Linked DNA regions of Homo sapiens: region 1 is linked to region 2. Evidence: promoter capture Hi-C in human tissues and cell types (Jung and others, 2019). All regions are on one chromosome and are shown on one strand. The core of a region is centred on a gene start or on the middle of the fragment in contact, and the rest is flanking DNA. Distances in the headings are between cores, read along the strand shown.

What was found. Contacts are between HindIII fragments. The study calls those that stand out against the background at their distance.
Region 1: a fragment that was not itself captured here is called in contact with the fragment with the promoter of AQP4 in region 2 in 2 of the 25 tissues and cell types used here (dorsolateral prefrontal cortex and lymphoblastoid cells).

What each region holds. Positions count from the first base shown.
Region 1 is chr18:26,949,548-26,956,542 of GRCh38, reverse strand. All of the region lies in intron 4 of CHST9 (carbohydrate sulfotransferase 9), which reads left to right. It also overlaps the pseudogene ATP6V1E1P2. Among named protein-coding and RNA genes, the nearest start is that of AQP4, 87 kb to the right of the region's middle. The HindIII fragment of the contact is 6,843 bases long and covers 1-5,585 here.
Region 2 is chr18:26,861,677-26,868,854 of GRCh38, reverse strand. AQP4 (aquaporin 4) reads left to right here and starts at 3,148. Exons shown (of 5, transcript NM_001650.7): 1 at 3,148-3,197; 2 at 6,259-6,673. The coding sequence starts at 3,166. AQP4-AS1 (AQP4 antisense RNA 1) reads right to left here and starts at 3,547. Exons shown (of 8, transcript NR_026908.1): 1 at 3,495-3,547. RefSeq lists an enhancer at 5,399-5,899. The HindIII fragment of the contact is 8,928 bases long and covers 1-6,517 here.

The DNA.
Region 1 (6,995 bases), core at 915-3,414, 89 kb before region 2:
TAACCACTAGGACCACAAAAATAATATAATTGTGTGTGTGTATATATATAAAAAATTGTATATTATATATATAATTGTATATATGTACACAATTATATTATTTTTGTGGTCCTAGTGATTATATAATTGTGTATATATATATAGATATAATTATATATGATATATGTATATTTGTATATATGATATAATTGTGTGTGTATATATATATATATATATTTTTTTTTTTTTTTTGAGACAGAGTCTCACTCTGTCGCCCAGGCTGGAGTTCAGTGGCGCAATCTCAGCTCACTGTAACCTCTGCCTCTTGGATTCAAGCAATTCTCCTTCCTCAGCCTCCTGAGTAGCTGGGACTACAGGTGTGCGCCACCACACCCAGCTAATTTTTAGTAGAGACAGGGTTTAGTATTTTCAGTAGAGACAGGGTTTTACCATGTTGGCCAGGCTGGTCTTAAACTCCTGGCCTTGTGATCCACCTGCCTCAGCCTCCCAAAGTGCTGGGAGTATAGGCGTGAATCACTGCACCTGGCGCTATAATTATATATTTTAATTTATTGGAATTTTACTAGCTCAAGGGAAGAGGTAATTTTTTCTCATATTTAAATGGCTATAACTCACAGAAATGAACTATGTGGCTCCTGAGTCCCCCTGATCCTCAACTGACTGCGTGACCTCAGTCACTGGAAGATTGCCCTGTTACCTTCTGAATCAGCCCTTGCTTTACCCTTCAGGCCCCCAGCAGCTGAGCTCCTGCCTTCTTTCCTGAGTTGTACATGACCTGGTACCCAAGTCCCTCCAAAGCATGGATATGTTCCTTACCACCAGTAATCACCTGCCTCTTCCTTATTTGGACAGATGTCATGAATGCTGGACTCCCTCTGACCTTTTGCCAAGGAAACTTGTATCCAGCCTCTCTTGTCATCCCCAGACACACCCCAAGCTTGTGTCTTGGGTTCTTCTCCAGTGCCTGGGCTCTCAATTTCAGCCTGCACTTGTGCTGTCCAGCCTACCCAAGGCTTCCTTGCTACACACACTGCACAAAGTAATTAAAAGAAAGTGCATATATTTACCACAGCTGTGCCCCAAAAAAACTATTTGAGTAAATAGTTTAGTGGAAAAATGGTAGAAATTTGGGTAAATTCAAACTAAAAGGACAAGTATAATGTGGTTAATCATCAGGAAAATTGCAAATCATGATCTTGTAAGTTATGTAGAATTAACTCTCAGTCCTTCCCCTCAATTCCCATAATTTGGAGCACACTGTATTCCTAATACAGAACTATGATGGTATAGATGTGTAAAATACAAAAAAAAAAAAAAACAGAATTCTGGTGTAATTCCTGTTATTGAGGTGCTTAAACATTTTGGAAAATCAGTTGGGAACGAATATGAAAAGGGCTGCTATCACAAACAAAGCATTTGATATGGCCCAGAATTCATCAGCAGTCAAACTCAGGCCCTAATATCATCCATCTAAAGATTTTTAACCCATGTACCCTTTCTTTCATGAGCAAACCAGGGCCAGGAGCAGCTGCCCTCAATATGTTGGAGGCTAGTGCAAGGCTTCACCCACTGAGATCAATATATATATTGAACACTCTAGGTGTTCAATACATATATTTATGGAATAATTGATAGTGGTCTCAGTATCACTGAGCTGGGTCCTTAGGATACAATAAACAAAATGAATGTAGTCCCTGGCCTCAAGGAGCTTACATTATAGAATAGGAAACAAGCAAAAAAGTAACCAGACCTGCAAATAAAATAATTGCAAGTTTGTGGTAAGTGCTATGAAAGAAACAATAGGCTGAGATCAAGAATCACAAGAAGAGATGGGGTGACCAGGGAAGAACTCCTGACGTCTTAATATTAAAGTGAGACTTGAAAAATATGAAAGAACCAGACCTGCAAAATTGGAGAGAGAAGATAACAGCATGTGCAAAAGACAAGAGGCCAAAAAGGACCAGAAATGAACATAAGACCAGAGTAGATGGAGGGTAGAAAGGAAGGGAAACAGACAGCAAGGCAAGGTTGTAGAGGTGGTAGGAAAGAAGCAGATGGTGCAAGGCCTACAAGATGAAGAAAGGAACTTGGAGAGAGCCAGAGTGGCAACTGGGAGACCCCAGAAGGCTAACAGCATAGTCCAGGGGAGACATGTTGATGGGCTCAACAAATTGGGGACTGTGGTTAGACAGCATGCATTGTAGATATATTCTGAAGACACTGACACACTGTCCTGCTACCCATGGACTTCTTTGAGTCCCTGTTCCCCACCCTGTCATTGGCCCCTTGAGCTATTTCCTCGTCCTGTGCCTTTTCATAAGCAATAGCTTCCTCTCTATGCTTCTTTGAGAGGTAAGGACAGGGCCCCAGTCTGCTGAATGACCAAATCTGCCCTGTTTCAGATCACCATATTGGCCCTCTTTCCCAGATTCTCAGATTCCTTATTAAAATACAATTTGATGGTGAAAAGAGGGGGATGTGATACTCCAGAACTCCACAGTTCTGGAATATGAAATTACTCTACATGTGCAGATCTATAATGGGCGTATTTGCACCCCAGGAAAGAGGAATAGATTCATAATCTCATCTTCTTTTCCTTGCCCCATTTCAAGACTTCACATGTGGCACCTTCAAAACAGTTCAAGCACCCCTACAGAAGTGGTCATGCTAAATGTAGGTGATAGTACAGAAAGAGACAATGTCATGGAAAAGGGGAGAACAGAGCCAACCAGTTCTTTGGGAGAAAGGAGCAGGCTAATTGGGAGCAATGGTCTTGTTCACAGTTGGGTCTCCAGAACTTTGTACCCATCCATACATGACACCTGACAGCTGATCAAACAGTATTTGTTGGAATAAATGAATGAATAAAGTCAGGTACAACTCCTTCTAATCTTTATTCCCTGTATTCATTTGTTACCAATTTCTTTCAAACATTTCTTCAACAGGCTGTCTTTGATTTTCTTCATTTTCCTTCTCATTTCTACCTCCCTAGTCTAGGCCCCAACCCATCACTTACTTTGTGCAACCCACCAATGCCTCCTAGATATTCTCCAATTTCTCCCCCTACTCTGAGCAATTTATTTACCAGTTTAATGTTCCTTTATAACCCACCTCTGCTGAAAAAACCATAATTGCCCCCCAAATTGTCTATCGCTTTAAACATAAAGCAATTGACCCAGACCTGCCTGGGCAATGCTGTTTCTCTCTAAACCCTCTCCCCTAGTTAGGGTAGTCATCACCATTATTCTCCCCAACTTCCATCCATTTTTGAAGACCTAATTCAAATTCCACCTTCTAATTATTCTGATTCCTGTTACAAAGACAGGTCCTATCTCTGAACTTATTTTTAAGTTCTTAAACTCACCATATCTCTAGAATTTGCTCAGACATGCAAAAGAGATATCCAATAGATAGTACAATACAGATACTTAGATATCCATATTCAAGAGATATTCTTGAACTCCAAGAAGTGAAAGGCTAATAATAAATCAATTAAAATCATGGTCCCTGGTTGTTCAAGACATATTCCTGCATGAGTTAAAAGGGAGTATAGCAGTGATTAATGACAGCATACCTCTGGGAAACCTACTTGTTTCCCAAGACCAATCATATTGGTTTTCCCCATCTGTGTGCCCACAGCTTGCTAACCATAACTCTATGAAAACACTTCTCAGGAGGCACTGCAGTTTATCTTCACTTATTTCTCTCTGCCACCTGACCCTGACCTCCTTGAGGGCAAGCACCCTGCTGTATCATCTTTGCATGCCCAGCACTTAGGAGGTATCTGACACAGTGAAGGTATTATATTTTTTGGAATGAATATACTATACTGTAAGATATTAAACTTACATTTTTAGTTCTTAAGTTAGAGAAAATGACTACACAGCTAATGAGTCTGTAGTTCTGAGGGACTAGTAACTTACCCAGAGAAGCCTACATCCAAGAAATTATTTCACACGTTAGAGCCTATGGTTCAAAATAAACTTTCACAAGGTGGTAAAAGATACACCCAGGTACCAAGTGCTGCTGGATGGACTGGTCCTCCAGGGTTTATACCAATTGTCAGAGCCCCAAATGACTGTTCATTGCAGGAAATAAGATTTCCCTCCGGTAAAAACTATGGTGCAAAGGCAGTCTCTATGTACAAAATCCCCACCACAGACAATTGTTGATGTCCCAATTGCCCAGGAGTCCTACCTGCCTGAGGACATAGTTGGTGGAGTTGAGATCCACAATGGGGATTGTAAAATAAAGGTTTCCAACACCCTGAAAAGCCGACTGGATCTCAGGCCAGCAGATGATGCCAGAAGTCCGGGGAGCCTTGTTTGGTCCAAATGCCAACAGCTTTTGGGAGGTGAAGTCCATCCCTAGCCCTCCTGCTATGATGTGGAAGCTTCTGATATTTGAAGAAACAAGAATGTCTAAGTGGCTTCCTCTTTGCTGTTCGAGTATTGCTCTGTCTTTTTCAGTGGATGCCCCTCTGTCACTAATGTCCTTGCCTAATTGCTAACAATGGGAGAGAGTGTCATGTAATATGATCAGGAACCCACCTCTAGTTTATCTCAAAGTAGCACAGCTCCAGTTGGTTCTGCAGCATTAGGTGATGGGAGCAGATGGTGGCTGCATGCACTTCACCAAGATCTTCCTCTGGCTCCCAGCAACCTAGTCTAGAGGTGATGTGTATGGTGTTCTCTGCCCTGAAGTCTCTGCTCTTGAGATTTAAGACACAGGTGGCACATTATTCCTTCCAGCAGTAGTAGCTTCACTGTTACTGTTTGGGCCTAGAAATTTTCCTCATCTATAAATGTGATCTAAAATCTAAGCCATGAATGTGCTTTATTTATTAAAACAAAAGATTTATGTTGATTTAATTGTAACTTTTTATGTAAGGCACTACAAATTTATGGTTTGAGAGAGTAAAGTTCCTACTGAGATACCTAGAAAAGAAGTATTTTCCAAATCCCTTTGACCAAAAAAAAAACAAAAAGACTTTGAGCAACAGATAGATTCTTGCAGATCTATGCATGGCTGAAGAAGGTCTATTAGCCTCCTGCCATTTTCCCTTTTTTCCTGTGTGTTGGCATTTTTCTGAAATGCAGAATCATAACTGCTCTTAGATTCTCAAAGGGGCCTGTTACCTGAAAGAGGTTTAGAACCACTGCTTTAAACTGTTTAGGCAGCAAAATAACTTTCCCTAGAATTTTAATCAGTTCGGGGTGATTAATCAAGCAACTTACAATGAGAAGAATTAGTGAGTCTCACTGCAAAGTTTGGAGAATTTGAGGCAGTTGTCCTGGAATTATAAATCTTAGAGAAATAGGTCCTTCCCCACCCATGTTGATGATAGTGGGTTAGGGCTGTTTCTACAAATTTTATTCCTGAAGCTCATGAATGCACAGAAGTGTCTCAACACCACCTTCATCATAAGATGAGCCAACAGTGTGCGCAACCTGCCTCTGCAGTTTATTCTGCTTTGTTTTGTGAAGACATAATGAGATTAAAATTTAAGAAATCTGGGATGACTCTCCACTTAATCTGCCGGTCAGACAACTTTGTCAATTTTTTTATTTTTTCCCTCTTTAATCCTCTAACCAAAAGCTGGAGGGATAAGACCCAAATATGAGACAAAAAAGACTAGTTTTATCCTGAAAGTTAGCTTTAAAAAAATTTTGTTTCAATAATTTTTGCAGAACAGGTGGTTCTTGATTACATGGATAAGTTCTTCAGTGGTGATTCTGAGATTTTGGTGCACTCATCGCCTAAGCAGTGTGCACGGTACCCCATATGTTGTCTTTTCTCCCTCACCCTCCCTCAACCCTTCCCTCTGAGTCCCTCAAGTCCATTACATCATTTCTACACCTTTGCATCCTCATAGCTTAGCTCCCACTTATAAATGAGAACATGTGATATTTGGTTTTCTGTTCCTAACTTACTTCACTTAGGATAATGGCCTCTAGCTCCATCCAAGTTGTTGCAAATGCCATTGTTTCATTCCATTTTATGGCTGAGTAGTATTCCACGGTGTATATATACCACATTTTCTTTATCCACTTACTGGTTGATGGGCATTTAGGTTGGTTCTACATTTTTGCAACTGCGAATTGTGCTGCTAAAAACCTGCATGTTCATATGTCTTTTTTATATAATGAAAGTTTGCTTTTCTATGTCTTAAGAGTAGCTATGTTGTTCCTTAGAATGCTGGCTGTCCTTTCACCCATAGACCATGAAAATTTGGACAAGTTTCTGCATGTATTTGAGCCCTGGTCACATAATCTTTAAAAACATAGGAGGAATAATCTCTACTTTTCAGGACATAATGTCTGTGAGGTATGTCGCCTAGGCCCAGGGCACAGCAGTTACTCAGCAGCAGTGTGCTTTCCTCCCCGTACCTTGAGGAACAGCTGAGAAAAAGCATAAGAACTTGTTTGAATTCATTTCCTTTTGCTGCTGTAACAAATCACCAAAAACTCTGTGGCTTAAAACAACACAAATGTATGCATCTTACAATTCTAAAGGTCAGAGTTCAGATGGGCCTCACCAGACTAAAATCAGGGTATCAGCAAGGCTGCGTTCCTTTGCAGGGCTCTAGGAGTCATCTATGTCCTTCCCTTTTCCAGTTTCCAGAGGTTGCCCACAGTACTTGGCTCACAGCCCTCTTCAGCAATGGCATTACTCCGACCCCTGCTGCTACTGCCACCTCGCCTTCTCTCTGCTGTAAACTCTCCTGCCCCTTTATTATAAGGACTCTTATGATTACACTGGCTGTGTCCAGATAAGCTTCCCATCCACAGATCCTTAACTGAATCACATCTGCAAAGTCCCTTTGTCATGAAAGGTCCCGTATTCACAGGCTGATTAGGATGTGGACATGTTGGGGGCCATTATTCAATCTGCCGTAATTGTCATGTCAGCTTCTGTAACCTACAGGTATCTTCCTCTTTATTACAGGCACAAGCCTCACTTATTAACTTCCTCTTCATTTTTTTTCCTTCTCC
Region 2 (7,178 bases), core at 1,899-4,398:
GTAAAGCTTCCTTGAAAAAGGAACAAAGCCCCATTAAGCCCTTCGTCGTGATGGTTGTGGTTGCGGCTGCTGCTGCTGTTGTTGTTCTGTTTATTTGTTTGTTTTTAATGAACATACTGATATATAAGTGCTCTGGGGGAATTCATGATGCTGAGATTCATGAAAAGCAAAGTAAGATTTATGAGTTGCGATTGAATCTGCCCCTACCAGCCTGGAGACACTTCCCGTCTGGTACTGAGGCATTGCTGGCATGTTTAGTGCTTTTGTTTCAGTTTTCAATCTCTGAACACATGAAGAAATATTAAAAGTTCTGAGGGCAAGGATGGGAGAAGGAGTCCACAAATCCCAAAGATATACAACAGCACCCAAGGAAAATAGTATGGCATAGTAGATTAAAAATTCAGAAACAACAACAAAAAAAGCGTGTCAATTAGCTAGTGTTTGCTAAGTACTTGTCATTTTCACTTACGCTTCTCTCTGGTTCCTCATGTGTTACTGACCCACAACTTCGCAAGGCTATTGAACTAAAGATTCACAAGGTGGTCTGGCATAAAGACCAATTTTAAATCAATATGCCATGTAACTATCCTCCCCCAAAAGTTCGTAACACTATACAATGAGAAAGTCAAGAAAATATAATAAATTGTTATTCAATTTTTTAATGAATTGCGCCCTTTTAAACATACCAGTGGTGTGGGGGGTGGGGGGCAGTTAGATTCCAACTCTCACTTGGATCCAGGTCCACATCAAAACATTTCAATGTAGAAGGTATTACTCATGTTCACCAGAGCTTCCCACCTCCTGGTGGTCCACCACCACTACAAGCACATTATAGCTGCTTTCCTTCATTATCGCATTCTGCATACAAAGCCACAGACAATCGTGTGGGAAATTTCTGCCCCTAGTCCAAAGAAAAGCCAGATAAGTAGCTGATTATTGCATAGAGCTGACAGTATCACAGGAAGATCAGTAGTAGCAGCTCAAGTACAAAAAGGTTAATTAGCAATACTTAATAAGAAAAACTACCTCTGGCAGGTGAAGAGTTAATCCCTGGTCAATTTTAAGCTACTCTGCTGAGAGTACTAATAAGTGTAGGGGTTGGAGCCAATGAGGGTGACCCCTTCCTTGATGGGAACAGTCATCCCTTAGGAACTGCCCTGGAAAGCATCAGCCAGCCAGAAAACAGGGAAAGAGGCTGAGAAACCGTGGTAACCAAGTTTTGCTGGCACTTTGTAAAATGGTAACTGCAACTGCCGAGGCTGTGCAGAGAATGCTAATAAGCCTAGGACAACCTGTAAAGAGTGGACCTAGAAAATGTCCACCCACCGACCAGACCGGTAGCCCTAAAGAGCCCCACTCTGTAGATTCCTGAGGATCTGCCCACCGTACTCATTCACAAGGAAGCCCCTAAACATGGCTACATTGTGCCTTAGCTTCACAGCCCTCAAAATACTTCTGACTCAAATGTCTTAGGGTCAGAGTAATGACATTTAGCACATCTGCCTAGAAACTCACAGTTTTCCAATTTGTAACAAACATTTTGCACCTTTTAAAAATCTCATTCTAAAATCCAAATGGTAAACAGCTTTAAGAATCAATATGAAATGTTTTAAGTGTTCTCTGTGGCTTCATATAAATTCTCCCTGCCCCTCTCATCAGAATTTATTCTGACTTTCAGGGAGCATATTAAAGGTAGAAACCACTGATGTACAATAATAAGTGTGCAACCATATTCTTAAGAATCTAAATTCAATCTTGGTTAGCTGAGAATGCTTGAAACAGTAATAAAGTGCTCCTCTGAAAGTCACACTCAAATTTTGAATTCCTCTTTCTAATGAGAGCTCTTCACCCATTCCCATGTCTCAAGTACGCAAATGAAAACAAAACAAAAAAACTGTAACTGGGATTTAAAAGTATAACAGTCTTTCTTCTCTCATGTATTTCTTTCTTGTCATACTTCATTCTGGAAAAAAATAATCCAATCTGAAATATAAAGTGGGAAAAGGGAGGCATCCGTAGGTAATGTGAGTTATTATCATTGTTCTAGATGTTGGGTTGAGTGGTGGGTTCATAGATGTTCATTACATTATTTAAAAGCCATTATAATTAACTATTAGAAAATAAGAGGGCCATACATGCACGAGTGATGACAGAGTGTCATAAATCAGGAATTCTGATTATTCCAATCCCATGCACCTAAGATCTGTTTAAAGAAAAAATAATAATGAGATGGTGATGCAGGTAGCTAATGGTTAGACCCTTCTAGAGTTCACCAAACTCCTTCGGCAGGGACGTCTTCATAAGCATGCAGCCTGCGCAGCTGCACAAGGTCCTGCCTTTAGGAGCACCCAGCCTTTATTTATGCTCTGCTGTCGCAATCTTGAAATTTAAATAGTGTTTTACCAAGGTGTCCTGCATTCATTTTGCACTGGGACCAGTAAATTATAAAATCAGTCCTGTCCCTAAGTTTCCAGAGGTTAAATTTACCTACAGTTCCCCATAATTTCGTCCCCATCCAACTTTGATATTTTTTAAGTTTGCTACTTCTTATCCCCAGATTATTAATGTAACAGTCAGGTGAGCACCCTAGAGCAGTCTTTTTTCCTGTATTTCCTATGTTTCCTTATTTTTATTGTCCAAATCAGTGCTGCCTGTGCTATAAATGGAGCTGCAGTTATATATTGTTCTTATAATGCTTCTTCTCAGATCAAAAACTTCAAACAGAATTCATTGGCTAAAAACTAAATGCACTGAAGTCTCTATCTAAATTCATGTTAACTGCTGGATTATACAAATTCATTTTCTAATAATTGCCCAATTTCAACTACAACATATAACCAAACAAGACAAATTCTGAACAATTCTTCATGGTAGAAAGAATTCAAATAAAGATTTAAGGAAATCCTCATTTTCAAAAATTACTGTCTCAAAAAAAAAAAAATTAAGTAAATGTTTTTGCATTCCTGAAATGCCCTGTGTCTACAGTGATCAGGTACAGAAAAGCTACTTCAAGTTCAAATATAACTTAGCGATTGCCACATGGTGCAGAATCTTTCCACCCCTAACACTCCAAAAACCCAATCAGACAAGTGGCCGTAATCTGACTCCCAGCACACAGGGAGCTGCGGGGCAGGCAATGAGAGCTGCACTCTGGCTGGGGAAGGCATGAGTGACAGACCCACAGCAAGGCGGTGGGGGTAAGTCCTTCTTTGCCTTAAGGGAACAACGCTTAGGGCCAAAAGATGAAACTGTCTCTTTTATTATAGATGTTTGTGCCTTCTTAGGCAGAATCTGGAAGGCAGCTATAGGGCAGGTGGGTGGTTCTTTTAGATCTGAGTACTGGGCATTTTCAGAAGAGAGGCATAGAGAAGGTAGAAGAAAAGGGATGCTTTTTAGCCAAATCCTCCATATGTTTCAGATCTGCAAAAGCCCAGGAAAATTACCCTATGGAGGTGAATCTAGCTATAGTACATTTCTTCGGAAAAATTACTCACCCAGACGCTCAGCTGTCCTGGAGTGGATGAAGCTGAGTGTTCAGCTAGAAAGTAATGTGTCCGATTCAGTACATCAACAAACCCGCTTTGTTCTGGGGCAAAAGAAGCAAATCTAATTGTGTTGATCATTTCCAGTGACTGTGAACATATAAGGGAACACTGACAATAAAAGCAGGGTGCTATGGGTGACGCTAGGGTGAGCCCTCATAAGGCCAGAGATATGTATATGCTGCCAGCAAACTTCACGGTTCACAGCCAAGTGAGGCTGGTCCATCTGCCTTGGAAGAAGATCAGATTTTTGTGGATTTAAAAAAAAAAAAAAGCTAAAAACATTCTTAAAGAGCATGTTTATGTTTTGTGTTGGTGTTTTGCACTGTTTTAAATTTCTCTGGTTGATGAATATTTGAAGCTGAAAGAGCAACTACCTCTGGAGAGGTAAACAGGTGCATGACAGGCCAAGCAGGGAGAGAACTCCGGAAATGGCAGAAGTGAGAGGTGAAGGGGGTGAGCAGCGGGGCTGGCCTTTTCTGGGTCCCACCTCTTCTGGTGTCTCCTGCGGGGCTGAAAAGGACGTTTCCTGCCCACCTAGCTTCCTTAGCCTACTGTTTTGTCCTCCTCCTTCTCCCCTAACCCTGACCACAAACGACAGCACCTATGATCGCATTTTGCCCCCTTTGCCATCCCGGCTACAGCCCTGGGCTGCCGGTGAGTTCAGAAGTGACTCTCCTAACTTCTTCAATATGTGACTTTTCTGAGTTTACCGTCTTTGGGAATATTTTTAGTGTCTCCTCCAGGGTGCCCTCCCTGCCCCATTGCAACCATCGTTTTTGTCTCTTTACATTCTTTTCCTCTAGAGAGTATGATGTCGTTGTCATCCCACCTGGGGTTTTTCATACTTCTGAGATTCGCTTCACTGGGGCAGGGGATGCGTGGGATGTGGCTGGCCACCCCCCTGTGGAGCCAGCTCTTCCTTTATCCTGCCACCCGGGCCTGGGCAAGAAAGGGTTTTTCTCTCTCCACCTCTAAAGCAAAGCCCCATAGCAAACTAAGGGCTAGGCTGAGCTGGAAATTCCCCTCACCCTTTTTGGCACTGCATTTCCTCACTACCCACGCAGAAAGCAGGTTCCCGGGAACATTCAGTGACATGGGGAAATGAGGGCCCCGCAATTTGTCAAAGGGAAAGCCACAATAATACTAATCTCTTAAAGTACTTGGCTTTCTTGCCTAACCCCTTACGTGGTCCTCTGCAATTAGATTCTCTGGTAAATACTCTCCATACTTCTTGGCTCTCATGACTATCACAGGCAAAGGACAAGGGCAAAAGTCTTAGATGATAGGGTAACTGGGGTAATTGCCCCCCCCCCCCAAAAGGGGAATCCTAGCCATTTCCTGCCAGAATGAGCAGTTGGCATCAATATCGTCAAACCACCCCTTCTCTGCTCCAAAGATCTAATGACAGCAAGAGGGATATAGACGGGAGGAGAAGGCGTCCTCCCTCTCCCAGACTCCCTGCCCACCACCCTCCCCAGAGAAGCTCCACAAGGTGAGACACACTGTCCTATAGGCCCATGTAACAGAAAGCCATCAAAAAGACCGTAGAGAAAAGCCGTTTTCCATAGAGCCTTCTGCTCAGGGGCCCACAGTTTCCCTAACCACACCCGCTTTTCCTGACTTCCCGAGCTCTGCACCATGAAGGCAGGAAAGGTACCGGGGCATTGCTGGCACACCCCAGCCTCCAGGCTCCCTTTGGCAGGTTTATCTGCATTGTACGGTCAGGGTCAAGGGGTGAGAGAGGGTCGGGCACGAGGAGAGGCTGTCCTTCCTCCCCTAAAAGCATCCCCCACTCCCATCTCTCCCCACCTCCAGCGGCCAGGATGCACCGGGCCGGCGGGCAGGCGGGCGAGCTCGCGGGGCCGCTTCTGCGTGTGCACCTGGCCGCCGCCCGGGAGCCTGCCACGGGCCGGGAATGGCCGCTGCTCCGCCCTCTGAGAGGTGCTCCAGGCTCCCTGGGGACGGAGGTTTACACGTCCCCGTGCCGCGCTCCCAGATCTGGGCGGTGCGCGTGTCCCTTGGGCAGGCTCAGCTCCCGGACTCCTCCCGCTGGCAGCCTGCTCGTTCCTGGCGCAAAGGAGAGGGAGGGAGTGTCGCTGTCCCAGCTGAGGCCCTGCCTGTTCCCATCGCCCTTGCTAGTCACCAGAAGCTCCTCTCCCCTCAATGAGTTCACTTTCTCAAAAGACAGCCTTCAGCACCCTGGTTTCCTAGAAGGCTTCCCCCTAATCCAGAGTCTGGGGGGAGGGGGAGATTTTCAGAATGCCATTTCAAAGCAATCAAATGCAAAGCTAGAAAAGACGACCCCCCCCCCCCACGCACACCTTGTTTTAATGCTTTATGTTCGAAATGTAAGTAGCATATAAAATGTACTCGAAACTTAAAAACTTGCTCTAAGGGAATTAAGTACAAGGTAAATATATTTTATTCTTAATATTTTAAGGAATTTGATTTAGACATTTTTCCTTTCTAGGGACAGTTTGGATAATTTTCCGTGAAACTGGATGATCTTTGAATATTAAATGAAAGGAGACTAGAATAACAGTCTCTTGACTATTCATGAAGGAGCTTTAGCAGAAGCATTCTTTCTTGGTGTGCAAATCACGCCTGGCAGCCCCTGCCCACAGTACCCGAAGATGGCAGGCCTTGTTCCCTTCACCTAAATTCATAAACCTGGGTGTAGTGGCTTCTGATGCTGATTTGTTTCTCTTTTCAGTAAGTGTGGACCTTTGTGTACCAGAGAGAACATCATGGTGGCTTTCAAAGGGGTCTGGACTCAAGCTTTCTGGAAAGCAGTCACAGCGGAATTTCTGGCCATGCTTATTTTTGTTCTCCTCAGCCTGGGATCCACCATCAACTGGGGTGGAACAGAAAAGCCTTTACCGGTCGACATGGTTCTCATCTCCCTTTGCTTTGGACTCAGCATTGCAACCATGGTGCAGTGCTTTGGCCATATCAGCGGTGGCCACATCAACCCTGCAGTGACTGTGGCCATGGTGTGCACCAGGAAGATCAGCATCGCCAAGTCTGTCTTCTACATCGCAGCCCAGTGCCTGGGGGCCATCATTGGAGCAGGAATCCTCTATCTGGTCACACCTCCCAGTGTGGTGGGAGGCCTGGGAGTCACCATGGTAGCATCTTTAGCTATTTTCAAACTAGGACTCCAAGCTTCTTGCAAACTCTTTGCTAAATAATGCCTTGGTGGCATGAGGCACATCCCTAAAATAGCTAATTTACTCCTAGGGAATTTTTGATGATTCTTAATAGTGTGAAAACTGATTCTGGCAGTATTTAGGTATATCTGTAAGAAATCATTGTTTGCTCTTGAGTGCCTTAAAAATAACAAAATCTAGGTGGCCCGAAAATTGTGTTGGTTTTTTCCTCCCCTTCTCCCATTCCAATTACTATATTGACTTTATATTTAGCTTAATGCATTTTCCTTACAGTTATTTGTTCACTAGCAGAAAAAAACTATTTTCTTGTCATGTTCATAAGATGTACAATGATCTACATAAAGGGTTATGCTTAAAAAAATAGACATCCGATCCTAGTTTTGTTCTTAGCTGATTAGGAGTATCAATTGTTAACTCAGCACCAGGGCTGATTAAAAAAAAACACACATGGCTTAAATTTTAA